Linked DNA regions of Homo sapiens: all the other regions are linked to region 1. The links are contacts of gene promoters, found by promoter capture Hi-C in blood cells and fetal thymus (Javierre and others, 2016). All regions are on one chromosome and are shown on one strand. The core of a region is centred on a gene start or on the middle of the fragment in contact, and the rest is flanking DNA. Distances in the headings are between cores, read along the strand shown.

Region 1 (4,701 bases), core at 256-2,755:
TCTAAACAGGCATTCAACACTTATTAAGCAGCCACTGTGTGCAGAGACAGCACTATACTAAGCAAAGGAGCATAGGGTTCTGCCTCATTTTATTCCTGCATAAATACACAGCAGTCGTGATTTATTCTCTCAACTTTGTAGAAACGTGAGCTGCATCCACATGGCTGAATCCATGGCATTCATTTGGACTTCCTGGGGGCAATTTACAGGTTCTCTGGATTAGACAGCCCCATTGGGACATCGCTCGGACCCTTCACCTTCTAGCCCACGCAGGACAACTCGCTGGCGTCGGTCACACCTTCCGCAGGTGGTTGGACCGCCTAAGCCAGATGCACCCGGCCCACCTCCCTTAGCAGGGGTTCCGAATAGAAGTGTGAAAATGTGTGCAATGACTTCTGCAAATCAGAGGACTTGTTGAAAGGTCCAGGGGTCCAGGCGTGAAGGGAAAGCAGCCACCCTGCGGGGCGCCCCCTCCCCGGCGTCTCCCGGGCCCGGGGCGCTGCGCAGGCCGCCGCCGATCCCAGGGCGCAGCCAGCGCACCTCGGGCCTAGCACCATTAGAAAGGCAAATCGCAGAGCCGGGGTGCATTTAAATGCCCGGCCATGGGCCCTGGGGGTGTCTCTCCAGCGGGCGCCGCCGCAGGGGCCTCCAGGGCGCGTCGACCCCGGGGCGCTGGGCGCGGCCCGCGGGCGCACCCAAGACCTCAGCCCGCAGCGCCCGGGCGTCCGCGCCAGGCCGGGGCAGGGGAGGGCACCCAGAGCCCCCGGGCCCGCGTCCCCGGCCCCGCCCGGGCCCCTCGGCCGCCTCCCAGGGAGAGGGCAAGCTCCCCGGCCCCCGCCCGCGGCCGCCGGCCCCGGCCCCCTCCCGACGCACCACACCTAGCAACCGGCGCTGACAGGACGCAGTGGCGGCGGCGGCGGCGGGAGGAGGAAGCGGAATGGCTGCCGCGGTGGAGCCACCCCCGCCCCCCCGCTCCACCTCCCCGCGGCTGCAGCCGCCGCCGAGCCCTGACAGCTCGAGCCGGGGCGGAAGCGCCCGGCGGCGTGCAGCGCCCGCCCCCCGCTGCCCTCAGCGCCTCGGGCTACTCCGACCACCCGGGCCAACTAACTCCGCGACCCTGCCCAGCGCCCAGCTCCCGCCGCCCGCCGCGCCCTCCGCCCCGCGCCCCGCGCGCCGGCACTCGGCCCCGCCGCCGCAACCCCGCCGCCCCGCCGCGGCGCTCCCCGCTCCCACCACTTCGCAGCCCGCGTGCACGCCCCTGAGTCCCCCAGCCGCCCGCCCGCCCGCCCGCGGCACCTCGGGGCGCCCGCCCCCTCCCCCACCCGAGCCCGCTCCCCGCCCCCCGGCACCTCGCGCCCCCGCATCCCGCCACCCCCACCTCGGGGCTCGCACGCGCCCTCCCCGCCCTGCCGCCTCCCTCCCCGCCGGCCACCCCTGGCCATTCCGGGGCTCCCCGCCCGGGCAGGAGTTTCCGCGCGCCTGGCACCCCCGCCCACCCCCGGGCCATTTACCGATGTGGTTGTCCTCGATGTGCTCGATGAGGTCGGCCAGGGTGGGGAAGTGGAGTCCGCAGCCCCCGAATCGGCAGGTATTGGAGAAGAAGGAGGCGGCGGCGATGCCTGTCATGGTGCTACATCGAGAGCCCCCCTGGTGTCGGCTCTGCGAGCGCCGGGCGGGCGAGGGAGGGAGGGAGGCCGGGTGGGGTGAGGAGAGGAGGGGCTGGGGGAGGGGGAGAGAGGCGGGGTGAGGGGAGCGGCGAGGACGGGACGGAGGGAGAGGGGGCGAGAGAGATGGAAGGAGAGCGAGGAGCCACCGGGAGGCAGAGGGGAGGCGGCGGCTGCGGCGGCGGCGTCGGGAGCGGCGGGGGGAGGGCGGGGGCGGGGGCGGGGGGGGAAGGCCGCCGCAGCTGGGAGGAGGGACCAGGGCGCGCGGCTACAGCTGTGCGGCCCCAACCTCAGCGCGCGGACCCAGGCCTCACCTGCGAGCCCTGCCACCAACTTTATCTCGCTAGGCCTGCCCTTTACGGCTTGCCATCCGTGCCATCTGTTTGGAGCCTCCTTGGTTATGTATATGACGTTCTTAATACACCCACATCGATTAATTACACCTACCTCCCTGCGAGGAGAACTCAGGGAGTTACCCTGGTCCCTCTCAGGGACATTTTTTTGTACTCAGCCACCTGTCTAGGTGTGACACATTCACAGGGGACCCAGGAAAGGTAATTGTGTGCACCTTCTTCTTTAAACCTTCTTTAGAAAAAGTACACATTCTCCGGAGGTTTGTACTAACTAATTGATTTTAATGAAGCTTTCCCTCTAGGCCAGAAAAAAATCTTAGCTTTATTTAAATTTCAAAATAGAGTGCTTGGTTGTCAAGTGCATTTGCCTGTGTTTTACATATGTGCCACGTTTTTTATACTCCCTGCTCCTTCTAGGAAAACAAAAACTAAAATAATTTCATCACCCGAAATTACAGCACCCTACTGCACCCACTCCACCATCTCAGGTCTGGTAATTAACCCATCCTCGTTTCAGCCACTGCAGAAAGGACAGTGCATTGGTTAAGGCTAGAAGGAGCGGAAACAACGGCAAGGGACATAGTGACTCTTCATTTAAAAAGGAAGCGATTTCATCCTGTGAGCATTTAAAGCATAATGTTGACCAGGTAACCACTTAAGGTGAATTTAGTAGCTTCCCTGAAAACCAGCATTTTGCTGAGAATCAATTACTTTCTTGTCCCCACCCCCTCCTCCAGTTGCAGTCATATTTCTTCTGTAAAGTGTGTATTTTCCAGTAGCACTTTTCCAGGTGTCTAAGAAATATTACACATTATCAGCAGTTTATGACCCAACAGTACATTTTTTTTATTAATATTAATATATGCATACTGAATTTAGCATTTTTCCTTAGGGCAAATTTCACTTACCCTCTGGTGCAGATGCATGGAGAAATAGTATTCCTCCCTCCATAAACTCTATGCATCTCTGTCTAGTGTTATTTCTAATAATGGGATTGTTTGCTTTTCATGTAAGTGCTTAGAGTAAAGGCACATGTAATATGTCTGTTGCTACAGGAAGTTTTATGATCTGACCATCACCGGTGGCATTTTCTCTTCTCATCTCTTCTGTCTTGCAGCTCACAAGGTGACAAACTTGCTGAGATGAGATTCGGCTTGGGTGGGGCTGGGGCAGCTGTGTCTTGAAGTTCAGTTTGGTGCCAAGAATGGTTTCATGGGCCCAATGAGGGTGGGGGCAGGGCCCTGGTGGGCCTGATAATGAGCCAGGGACCGAGTTGGCAGGGGACTGAGGCCAAGGCCAGACAAGGGTCTAAAGAGCAGGAGTTAGAATTCTAGATCTTGAATTAGAATTTTGGCAGCTGTGCAGTACATTCAGCTGCCCAATCTGGGAAGGCCTTCAGCTGAGAGCAGGCAGAATATCTGGCAGGCACACACCACACCAAATGACATGGAAATGCAATACAAAACTTCAGCCAAAAATGATGCCAAAACAGCCACCCTTAGAGATGAATGTTAGGCACCCCCACTATGCAGCATCTGGGAGCCCCAAAAGCTTTGAAGAAGTAGCAGTTCTGTCCTCCAGAGGAAAAATTGTCTACGTGGAGTTATTAACTCCCAAGAGTGTGGAGAGGTGGTTCAGGCAAGAGAGTTCCGAGATGGGAAGTGCCAGAAATGTGCAGGTGAAAGATGAAGGAAGTAAGGGGCCTGGGTTTCACTAATGCATGGCTTTCTACTACCTCCTGTCAGTTTCACTATTCCTAAAATAAAACCTTGCTAGACCAAATTGAAAAAAATAGATTTTTTAAAAAATGAAGTGAGCTAAAATAACTTCCAAAGTAAATCAAGATATTGGTTTTTAAGACAAAATTATTTTCTCTACCTTGGATAATTATTACTGTTTTGTAAGGAATCAGTTCATTTTGCCTGAAAATAATCCACCCTACTACTTCTTCATATGTGACTGAAGCTTTGTTTATGTGATGTTCTGCTCATACTACTTTTTAAAAATCTGTACACTCTAGGCATTTCCGGTCTTTATATAAGATACATGATTGTGATCTCTTAGACCTGGAAGATACTCTGGCTGTCAGAACCACTGGTTTTGGAGATGTGGTAAACTGAGGCCGGGGCATCAAGCAAGTTCTCCCAGGTGCACACAGACAGTTTTTTTCTCTGTACTCATGGTGCATTTAGAAGGCATTGATAGACAATAGAAGGACAAATTATATATAGATAGTAACCACAGGCAAAGTTTTTTAAAAATTGCTAATAGCATGCTTACCTTTCTGTACTTATATTTTTAAAATGTTTGTTTCCAGGATATCCCTTTAGATAAAGTCAACATCTAAGCTACAAAAATATATAAAACAAACAATTCAACTTATTACATCCGAGAGAGAAGGTGATGACTGATATACCTCTGTACTGGCAAAAAACATCTGTCTGATTTGGAAAGTAAAAATATTTGAAAGGAGAGGGAAAGTGAGGGAACTGAGAAGTCAGAATGATATGACAGTGGCTGTAGACAAGAAGCATTCTCTGGGTTTAAGAGCCTTTTCTTGAAAACCATCTGTCTCTCCCCAGAGCCCAGTGCCTCCCAATGTATAGGCACAAAGTATGGATGTGCAGTGGCCCCATAATATGGTACTTAGCATTACAAATGGTTTGAGATCGCATAACAGTCTC
Region 2 (4,679 bases), core at 1-2,500, 1.0 Mb before region 1:
CCTCTGTTAGGCCTTGTGCTCGAGAGGTGCTTGCAGTGCAGGACCCAGATTCTCTTGGGCCAGGCTGGCAGGACTCCGCGGGGGTGGCGGGCGGTGCGAGGATGCAGGGCTTTGTTCCTTTGCAAGCCCCCAAAATGTTTGCCTGCATGGCCACGTTGGGCCGGTGGGGCTCCTATTTCCCTCTTCAGAGCCTGCTTAGAAGGCGGCTCCCAGCTCTCTATCCTGTCACCCTCTCCCCCTTTTCCTCACCAAGCTAACGAAGGCCCAGGTTTGGGAATTTTCTCGGGGGCACCAAGGTGAGAGTGGTCTTTCCACTGCTACTGGCCAGACCAGACCAGCTCCTCAGGGGCTTCTCCGCCGTCCCGCACATAGACACAAGGCCGGGAGCCTGGCTCCTCCGCCGGGTTTCCCAGCTTTTTCTCGCCGCCAGGCAGCTGGCCTGTTTGGGAGAGCTTAGCTCGGCGGACTGGTTGTGGCAGGTCCCGCTCCTGAAAGCCAGCCAGAGGCAAAATTGGGGCTCTTTCTCACCACCCCAACCCGCCCCTACCCAGAGACTCTACATAGGCTCCCCTGACCCAGAGAAGAAGGTGCAAAGAGCAGACCCGCAAAAAATAGAAAAGAATCAATATATTTTATTTGGCAAAAAGTTAAATATCATCTCAACACAACAATTTGGTCAGTAGGCCTTGAGGTAACTATTGCAAAATATACAGTGTAAGTTCAGTCTGATGGAAACCCCAGATTCATCAAGGATACAAATCTACAGTAGCCCAATGGCGGTTTCATAGTGTATAATTTATTATCAATAAAATTAACTCCGTTACAATCAGCATTCATTTCCTCCAATTAAAATTAAGCATAAACCCTAGGTAGTAACCTTCTGCACATATGTATAGCTCCGAATTTCCTCACTGTTCGTCTGGTGCAAAAACAATATTCAAGCTTGTCTGATTATGCATATTTTCTTTAATCATATAGATTATATATACAATAGACAAGACAGGACTATATAGATAATGGACAGACTTAAATGCCCGCATTTTTAAGGTGGAGAAAATGATGAATCTATGCATCCCCGAGAACACTTAAAATTTTTTTTTATTTCACTGGGAAATTCTTACAGCTACTTTACAATCATAGGTTAACAGCCTAGTTATACAGAAGACATATTCCACTACAGAGCTATACTCTATGCAACTGTTTTTTTCCCCTCATAAACAACCTGAGTTCAAATTGAATTCTATCTTCCACAATCACAATGGGTGCATCACCCAGTACACAGAAGTTTGAATCACAAAACATAATTACCACAATAAAACACAGTGTTCAAGTATCTTGGCAGAGCAATCTGCCGCACAAACTGCAAATTAAATTAACTACACAGACTAAAAACTATACAGCCTACCATCAACAGTTGTGCATTATAAAAAGGTAGTTTCTTTCCTTTTGTTTTAAGTCAGGAACAGGTAGATTTTTAAAAATATATATACAAGCTAACACACACAGCTATCAGCACTAATGCCCCCCCCTCAACTTTTCCTTTTTCTTATAGAAAATGGAAAGCTTACAATACCTCCTCCATCAAAGCGGCAGGCCTACGAGCCAGCCTGAACAGGGTTTGCCTTGGAAAAGATGTGGCCTGAGGTTTAGAGCCGCTTTGTGCGGGGATGGTGGAGGCTAGGGTGGGGGTGAGAGAAGGGAGAAGGCGGAAGGGGGACGGACAGTTCTTTCTTTTTCTCTCTAGCTTACCCTTTTTTCTAAATAAGCCCAAATGGCATCACTCGTCTTTTGCTCGGTCTTTGTTGATTTTCTTCATTTTCATCCTGCGGTTCTGGAACCAGATCTTGACCTGCCTCTCGGTGAGGTTGAGCAGTCGAGCCACCTCGTACCTGCGGTCCCTGGTGAGGTACATGTTGAACAGAAACTCTTTCTCCAGTTCCAGGGTCTGGTGTTTTGTATAGGGGCACCGCTTTTTCCGAGTGGAGCGCGCATGAAGCCAGTTGGCTGCTGGGTTATCTGCGGGGAAGAGAAACACTGGGTTTAGGAGCAGAAGACGCACATCCCGCTGGGGCAAATGAGCCTCCTGCATGGGGTCTCTGGCCGAAGTGCAGAACTCTGCTGAACTGGTTAGGAAAGGCAGTCAGGCCTCGGACACAATGGAACCCTGGCAGACAGACGCACAGACAGTCACTTAAAATTGCACGCAGTAAAACTTTGGCTCGCCCTCCCCTCCGAGACCTTCCTTTCTCCTACTCTGTCCTCTTGTCCCCCTTCTCCTTCCTCCCACTCTCAAAACGCTGTATAGAATGAAATTTGGAAACAGGTCTCCTTGCCACGCAGAGGGAAAGCATGCTGCCTTGTGTTCTGTAGCAAGATTAGGATTCCTCTGTCCCGTTCACTGACTTCGTCTTTCTTTCCCAACCTGTCCCTCTACGCCCCCCACTCCTTATTTAACCTTCCTGGAAGGCCTTCGGAGCTGGGCAAGCCGTCAGGGCGCCCTAAGGCCGCTGATCACGTCTGTGGCTTATTTGAATAATCTGTCATGGGGACCCTTGTGGCCCGGGTCGCCCGCAGCCTCATCTTGGCAGGATTTACGCCGCCACTGGCCGAAGGCAAGAAGTGGAAGGAATCGGCCGTCTCCCCCAGCGTCCCAGCTCCGGCTGCCCTGGCTGCCGCCGCTCACGGACAATCTAGTTGTACAAAAGGCTCTCTGGGCTGCACTGCTTTCGAAGAACGGCCCAAAGTATCTCGGTCCTGGGCCTGGGCAGCCAAGGAGAGGGGCGGCCAGTCTTGGCTCGTCCCGAAGTGCCCGCCCCGCCCCCTCTCGCTGCAGCAGCCGCCTCCTCTCCCGTAGCCCTGCGGGCCGCTCTTCACTGCTCTCCAGACTTGGGGCCCTATCTGAGGCGTCCCAAACACCAACTTCTGGCTCCTGGCCCCAACTCGAGAGGCTTCCAGCGAGGACGAAGGCAGGCTCGAGAGAAACCTGGCGGGCCAGCAGATCCGGGAGGCCGGCGTGGAGGCGGCGGCGGATTTGAAGGGAGGAGACACTTACTGGGATCGATGGGGGGCTTGTCTCCGCCGCTCTCATTCTCAGCATTGTTTTCAGAGAAGGCGCCTTCGCTGGGTTGTTTTTCTCTATCAACTGGAGGAGAACCACAAGCATAGTCAGTCAGGGACAAAGTGTGAGTGTCAAGCGTGGGACAGTCACCCCTTCTGGCCGACAGCGGTTCAGGTTTAATGCCATAAGGCCGGCTGGAGGGCAAGCCCGCGAAGGAGAGCGCACCGGGCGTGGGCTCCAGCCAGGAGCGCATGTACCTGCCGTCCGGCGCCGCCGCCGCCACGGGCGCCTGGGGGTGCACGTAGGGGTGGTGGTGATGGTGGTGGTACACCGCAGCGGGTACAGCGTTGGCGCCCGCCGCGTGCACTGGGTTCCACGAGGCGCCAAACACCGTCGCCTTGGACTGGAAGCTGCACGGGCTGAAGTCGGGGTGCTCGGCCAGCGTCGCCGCCTGCCGGGGAGGCTGGCCCAGGGTCCCCGGCGCATAGCGGCCAACGCTCAGCTCATCCGCGGCGTCGGCGCCCAGCAGGAACGAGTCCACGTAGTAGTTGCCCAGGGCCCCAGTGGTGGCCATCACCGTGCCCAGCGCCTGGCCCGCCCGGCCCGACCCACGGAAATTATGAAACTGCAGATTTCATGTAACAACTTGGTGGCACCGGGGGGGAAGTACAGTCACCTAATAAGTTGCCGGCGCCCGCGCCCCCATTGGCCGTGCGCGTCACGTGCCCGTCCAGCAGAACAATAACGCGTAAATCACTCCGCACGCTATTAATGGTCCGATGTTTTGCAGTCATAATTTTTATAGCAAAAGCCATATGTTTTTATGTAAAGGGATCGTGCCGCTCTACGATGGGGTTTGTTTTAATTGTGGCCAACGACGATTAAAAGATCAAATCTAGCCTTGTCTCTGTACTCTCCCGTCTCCCCCCCCATACACACACTTCTTAAGCGGACTATTTTATATCACAATTAATCACGCCATCAAGAAGGCGCGGGTCCCGCGTGCGAGTGCGGCCAGCGGAGCCCCTCACATAAAATTAGACAATAATTGAAGCCATAAAAAAGCAGCCAAATCGCATTGTCGCTCTACTGTATTTAAATCTATATTTATGATATTTCATAAGGAGTTATTGTTTCAGAAGCCACACAGGCTGGCGGGAAGTCGGAAACGACCAACAGATTCGTTTGCCTCGCCGTGGCTCCCAGCTGTAAAAATTTACGAGGACTTGGAAAGGTTAGACTGTTGTGTTTGGTTGGCGAGCTCCCTGTAAATAATCCCTGCGGTCCCCGGGAGAGGCGAGTTTACCCGCGGCCGCCCTCGAAAAGTCAAATTCAACGCAGGATCCGTCCCAAACGGAGCCGCCGCCGGCCCTACCAGGGCACTCCAGGCAGGGACCGGCCGCTCAGGGAGTACCGCGGGTGTAGGTCCCCACAGCTACCCGCCTGGAGCGAGGGGCGCCCGGGCAACCCTTAAATTCGCCTTTGCTACGAGGACCCCACGGAGGAGCTGGCCAGGAGGGAGCGGCCAGCCGCCACCAGGGCGAAGGTTTTGAGGGCCTGGTTGGTTGTGCGGCGCGCTCGGTCCCCGGCCCTCGACCCCACGCACACGCGCGCCCAGCCC
Region 3 (4,987 bases), core at 990-3,489, 1.8 Mb before region 1:
ATTTTTATGTTGTCTTATTTTAGGTAAGCTTCTGTGTAAAGCTAAAAATCCTGTGAATACAATACTATCCTTTACAGGCAGACATTATTGGTAAACAAGATCTTGCCCTCCAATGAAATGACTTACATGTTTTAAAAAACCGAGTTGGTTTTATTGAATTTAAAAAGATAGGTAACTAAGTAGCATTTAAAATCAAGATAGAGCATTCCTTCTTGTATCAGTGGGGCAGTGTTACCATAAACACGGTGTATATGTTGTTAAACCCTATGAAGAGTAACAGTGTAGACCAGACTGCCTCTCTCAGATATGTGCCTGATATTTTGTGGATACCTCCCCTGCACTGGCAAAACACTATGCTTTTGGGTGTTAGACTGAAATATTTTAAGAGTATTTAACCTTTCCAGTATTCTGTTTCACGCTTAGATGGAAATGTATCTTATGAATAGAGACATATTAAAATAATGTTTACATCTTAGAAAAAACATAGATAGTGCTAGTAATATTACTTATAACTGTAATATATAGATTCAGAAATACATTTTCATTATCCAAAATCAGCTTCAACAAATGGTTTCTGGAGACAAATAATTTGTTTTCATTATCATTGTATAATCAGGTTAATGATTTATTTTTTGACTAAATGTGCAATTTCTTATCACTAGATAACTTTCAGTATCAGTGGTGGTTACTTATTACTTAAATCAGAGGAAGGATTTTATAAAGATTAATAAATTTAATTTTACCAATAAATATTCCCATAATTTAGAAAAGGATGTCGACTTGCTAATTTCAGAAATAATTATTCATTTTTAAAAAGCCCCTTTTAAAGCATCTACTTGAAGATTGGTATAATTTTCATAAAATGTCTTTTTTTTTAGTGTCCCAAAGATATCTTAGATAAACTATTTTGAAGTTCAGATTTCAGATGAGGCAACATTTTCTTGAGATAATTACCCAAGTTTCATCCATGTTGAATGGTACAAAATATTTCTGTGAAACTAACAGGAAGATATTTTCAGATAACTAGGATAACTTGTTGCTTTGTTACCCAGCCTAATTGAAGAGTGGCAGAGGCTACTACAAAAAGCAACCTTTTCATTTTCACTAAGAGTTTAAAAGCTATTGTATTATTAAAAAGTCTTTACAATGCTTGTTTCAAAGAACCAACAGAAAAAAAAGCTAAGAAAACTGAGAACTAACATTAAAAAAATTAAATTTAGAATAAGAATGATTTCTTTAATTTGTCCTTTTTTTCTTTGGTCTAAAACATTATTAAATTTTTGTAAATATTTTGATTTAATGTGTCTTAGATCCTCATTATTTTAATACAGGAAAAGAAAAGATTTAGTAATTTCTTACCATGCTAATATGTAAAGTTCATGCCATCCAGGCATTTAAGAGCGATCCTCATCCCTTCAGCAATATGTATTTGAGTTCACACTATTTCTGTTTTACAGCAGTTTTGAAAAACACATACTATGCCACCAATTGTCATATTATTTTTAGATGATGTAACATAGCCATCAAAATTAATATTATGTAATGCCTAATACTTAGTATGTAAATGTCACGAGATCATTTTTACATTAAACGTGAAAAAAAATCAACTTTGCCGGATCACTTATTTTATACAAGAGAATATATTCTGCCTTAGACCCAAACTCAGTGTTTTTTATTTTTTATGAGGAAATTTGGTAAAACATGGTTTAATATTAGCTATAGTTGTACATATTTGAGGCTTTTAGCCTTGGTTTAGTTGTTTCAATGTCCACACACTGGCTTCTTAAAACTGATTTCTTGCAGCTGAGATATTTAGATGAACTTCAGTTCCCAGTGGTTTTCTTGCTTTGTCTCTTATTTTTCTCTGGCATATTTTTTATAAAGCTTTCTTTAGGAAAAAGAAAATAATTACTGATGTAGCTAACTTGAATAGATGTTTATTTAACACTATTTTTAATGTGACTTAAATGTAAAGAATTCTAATCCTGGATTCTTTATGATTACAATACAGCAAAACTGCATTTTCCCTGGCTGATTCTTAAAGGGTAAACTATTCACCTATAAAGCCAACTTACGTGTTTTGTTGTAGAACTAGATTTATATATAACCCAAAGGTGTCAACAGCACTGAACGTCAACAACCTGTTACTTCGGCTTCTTATAAAGTCTCACTTAGAAGAAAGTTACTTAATTCTAGTTAAAATTTCAAGTTTTAAAAATTACTAGGGACAAACAAGTATTTATTTTTAAGCAGATACTATTCCTTAAGATATGAAGTATCTTGCCAGTTTTTCAAACCTAGTCCACATTTTATTGAATAATTAAATACAAACAAGTGATATGCAGTATAAAGTAAAAGAACAAAGTTTCTTTTATGACAATTAAGAAGTTAAACAACTTCATTTAGCCTGGCCACAATAACCGTTATATCCAACAGTAAACTGGACGTTGTTTTGAATTTGGTTTGTATTTGTTGGATGCCTTAAGGATTCATTATTATTGAGCTACTGTGATACCAATAAGGTTTTCAGTATTTGAGCTATAAAAGACAACCCCTTTTCATTAGAGGCCCCTTAACATTTTAAACGAAAATAACAAAGCTTATTCTGTTTCTAAATAGTCTTCCTCTTAATATTTAAATTACTTAGCTGGTATCCTGTGAATACAAGGCAACATCTTTTCAATGAAGGAAACAATTTCAGTACAATTTTGTGTTTTTGTTTGGAATATAGACCTTTTCTTAGTTTATTATATATAAACACATTTTCAAATACAAAATACTGTCTGAAATTAGTTACTGCAATTTGACATTCAAAGCATAGAATTTTCTTTGCAAATAAAGGTCATAAGAAATTAATAATTTTAATAGAGTGGAGTTCAAAAATTTCAGAAGGATGTAAATAAGCAACAATTTCTTTAACATTTGCTATATATACAAAGGACTTTGGTTCTATTCTTTGCCATATGCATCTTACAAACGAGTCACCATTGTCCCTTTTTAGCAGACACAATTGCGCTTCACTCCTACTGCAAACTTTTCTAGATCATGAGCAGTGCATTGGACACTAATTTATTTTAGCTGCGCAAACTCTGGTAGTTAATGACCCTTTCTCTTTCTCCAAAATTCCAAAGACTTCTTTTCAAAAGATATAGAGGAAAAGAGAAAAAAAACCATTAAGCTACAATTTCCTGCTGAATTTAAACTCTGGTCTAAAGACACTATGTAAATGGCTTATGCTAAAGAGGAAAATACCCTTTCTCCCCCGACGAGAAGTGTAGATTCATCCAACCCCACACCGCTTGTCTTTGCTGCTAGAGGCACAGCACGGGCATAACTTGTGGTTGTGTTTTTGCTAGTTTCTTACCTCTGGGCCTTCTTTATAGCTTTGCCCCCCACCCCACTGGCGGTGGCGCTCCCGCGGCTGCACCCTCGGCCGCCTGTTGGTTGCGGCGCCTCCGCGGCCCGCGCGCATCCCCCGCGCTGCGTCCCGCACACGCGCGCTCCCGCCGCGTCCCGCCCGGGCCGCTCCGCTGGCGGCGGCGACTGGGCTGCAGGTAGCGAGCCAGCCGGCCTCGGTCCGGTAACCCATGGCAACCGCCCTGGTAACCCATGGCAACTGCGCGGCGGAAAGAAAAAAAAGAACCGTGGTGGGGCGGGGGGCGGCGGGCGGTGAATGGGAACAACGACCGCAAAGAGACAGCGATTTACCGCGCGGGCCTGCGGCTCCCGGCCGCACCTGCTGCAGACGGCCCGCGAGGCCCCTTCCCGCGCTACGGTGACGATTCTGGCTGCTGGGGAAAAGAGCAATAAGCAGAAAGCCCTCGTGCAGAGGGGATCCGGGCGGTGCACTTGGTGTGGGAGGCTGCCTTAAACGCCGATGACCCTCCCGGCCTCCGCGTGTCCCGGCTTCCAGGGCCCCGCCAGGCTGGAGAGCGCGCGTGGAGAGGGCCTTGCCGCCTGGGGGTTGGTTGAGGGGCGGCCGCGCCGGGGCCGGGGCTGGACTCCAGGCTTTGTTCTGCAGACGCTCGCGCCCGGCCGGAGGAGGGGCTACACCGTGCTGCCCCGGCCCCATGGGGCCCGGCCCCCGAGGGTCCCCGCGAGCGGACGCGGTGGGGCCGGGCAAACTCTACGTGCCCTAAATTTTGTCATCTGCACACGCATCGCACACATTAGTTAACCCCTTTCCCTTCTAGGCCCCCGAGAACCTAACCTGCCCGGCGGGCGCGCGGCTGCGTTAACCTGGCCCCTTCCGTCTGGAGAGGGAGGGGACGGTCGCGCCTGGTGGTAGGACTGGGCTGTGTGTGTGTGTGTGTGTGTGTGTGTGTGTGTGTGTGTGTGTGTGTAGGGGGGTGATACAAGTTTTCCACCCGCTTTAGGCTGAGGCCCTGTAAGCGGGACTGTGTTCTAGTACCCGGAAAAAGCGCGCGGCCTGTGACACATCAGGTGCCAGGCCGCCGGAGGACAGAAGGGGGCGCTGCCGGGCCAGTGCGGAGGCTGCAGCCGCCCACTGCAGAACGCGCCCTTGGTTGGGTCTGGCGAGCTGCCCGCGTAGTGGAGTGGTGTTAGGGCTCCCAAGTAGAAAGAACCTGTTCCCTACGTAGGTGTCGGTTGTACTTAAGAGCATCATTTGGTCGCTCGTGTATTCGCAGAACCCCTAGCCTGCAATAAGATGGTTCAGGAAACACAACCAGAACCGGTCTCATTCGGTACCCAGCAGCTACGTGCATACAAGTCCAGAGACATGTAATGGGGTGGAGGGACCACGCTAGGAATCTGGAGGTCACACATCCAGGTCGAGTTTTAACTAGCTGTGATTCCAGGCACATTGTGATGTTATAAAAAGGAAAAGATTTGGCCTGGATGATTATGAGGTCCTCAATCAGACCACTCTCTGTAGGTGTGTTACAGTGACAAATACAAATAGCAAAGCCATCTGGAATACCTTTGTTTTTTTTTTAAGGCAAAGGCCTATGCAAATATAATATGC

Evidence for each region. The method cuts DNA at HindIII sites, captures the fragments that hold promoters and counts their contacts. A CHiCAGO score of 5 or more calls a contact.
Region 2: a fragment that was not itself captured here is called in contact with the fragment with the promoter of JAZF1-AS1 in region 1 in 4 of 17 cell types (activated CD4 T cells, non-activated CD4 T cells, naive CD4 T cells and 1 more); the score reaches 9.3 in activated CD4 T cells.
Region 3: a contact is called between a fragment that was not itself captured here and the fragment with the promoter of JAZF1-AS1 in region 1, in 3 of 17 cell types (non-activated CD4 T cells, activated CD4 T cells and total CD4 T cells). The highest score is 6.5, in non-activated CD4 T cells.

What each region holds. Positions count from the first base shown.
Region 1 is chr7:28,178,952-28,183,652 of GRCh38, forward strand. JAZF1-AS1 (JAZF1 antisense RNA 1) reads left to right here and starts at 1,506. Exons shown (of 4, transcript NR_034097.1): 1 at 1,506-1,588. JAZF1 (JAZF zinc finger 1) reads right to left here and starts at 1,844. Exons shown (of 5, transcript NM_175061.4): 1 at 1,512-1,844. The coding sequence starts at 1,626. RefSeq lists enhancers at 63-564, 565-1,064 and a silencer at 919-1,038. The HindIII fragment of the contact is 6,606 bases long and covers 1-2,305 here.
Region 2 is chr7:27,161,826-27,166,504 of GRCh38, forward strand. It overlaps HOXA10-HOXA9 (HOXA10-HOXA9 readthrough), which reads right to left. Exons shown (of 3, transcript NM_001433944.1): 2 at 3,053-3,142; 3 at 613-2,016. The coding sequence ends at 1,778. It overlaps HOXA9 (homeobox A9), which reads right to left and starts at 3,712. Exons shown (of 2, transcript NM_152739.4): 1 at 3,053-3,712; 2 at 613-2,016. The coding sequence starts at 3,632. The coding sequence ends at 1,778. RefSeq lists enhancers at 237-736, 2,248-3,125, 3,126-4,002. The HindIII fragment of the contact is 621 bases long and covers 941-1,561 here.
Region 3 is chr7:26,372,723-26,377,709 of GRCh38, forward strand. It overlaps SNX10 (sorting nexin 10), which reads left to right. Exons shown (of 7, transcript NM_013322.3): 7 at 1-1,661. All of the region lies in intron 1 of SNX10-AS1 (SNX10 antisense RNA 1), which reads right to left. Among named protein-coding and RNA genes, the nearest start is that of LINC02981, 23 kb to the right of the region's middle. RefSeq lists a silencer at 3,958-4,167. The HindIII fragment of the contact is 715 bases long and covers 1,883-2,597 here.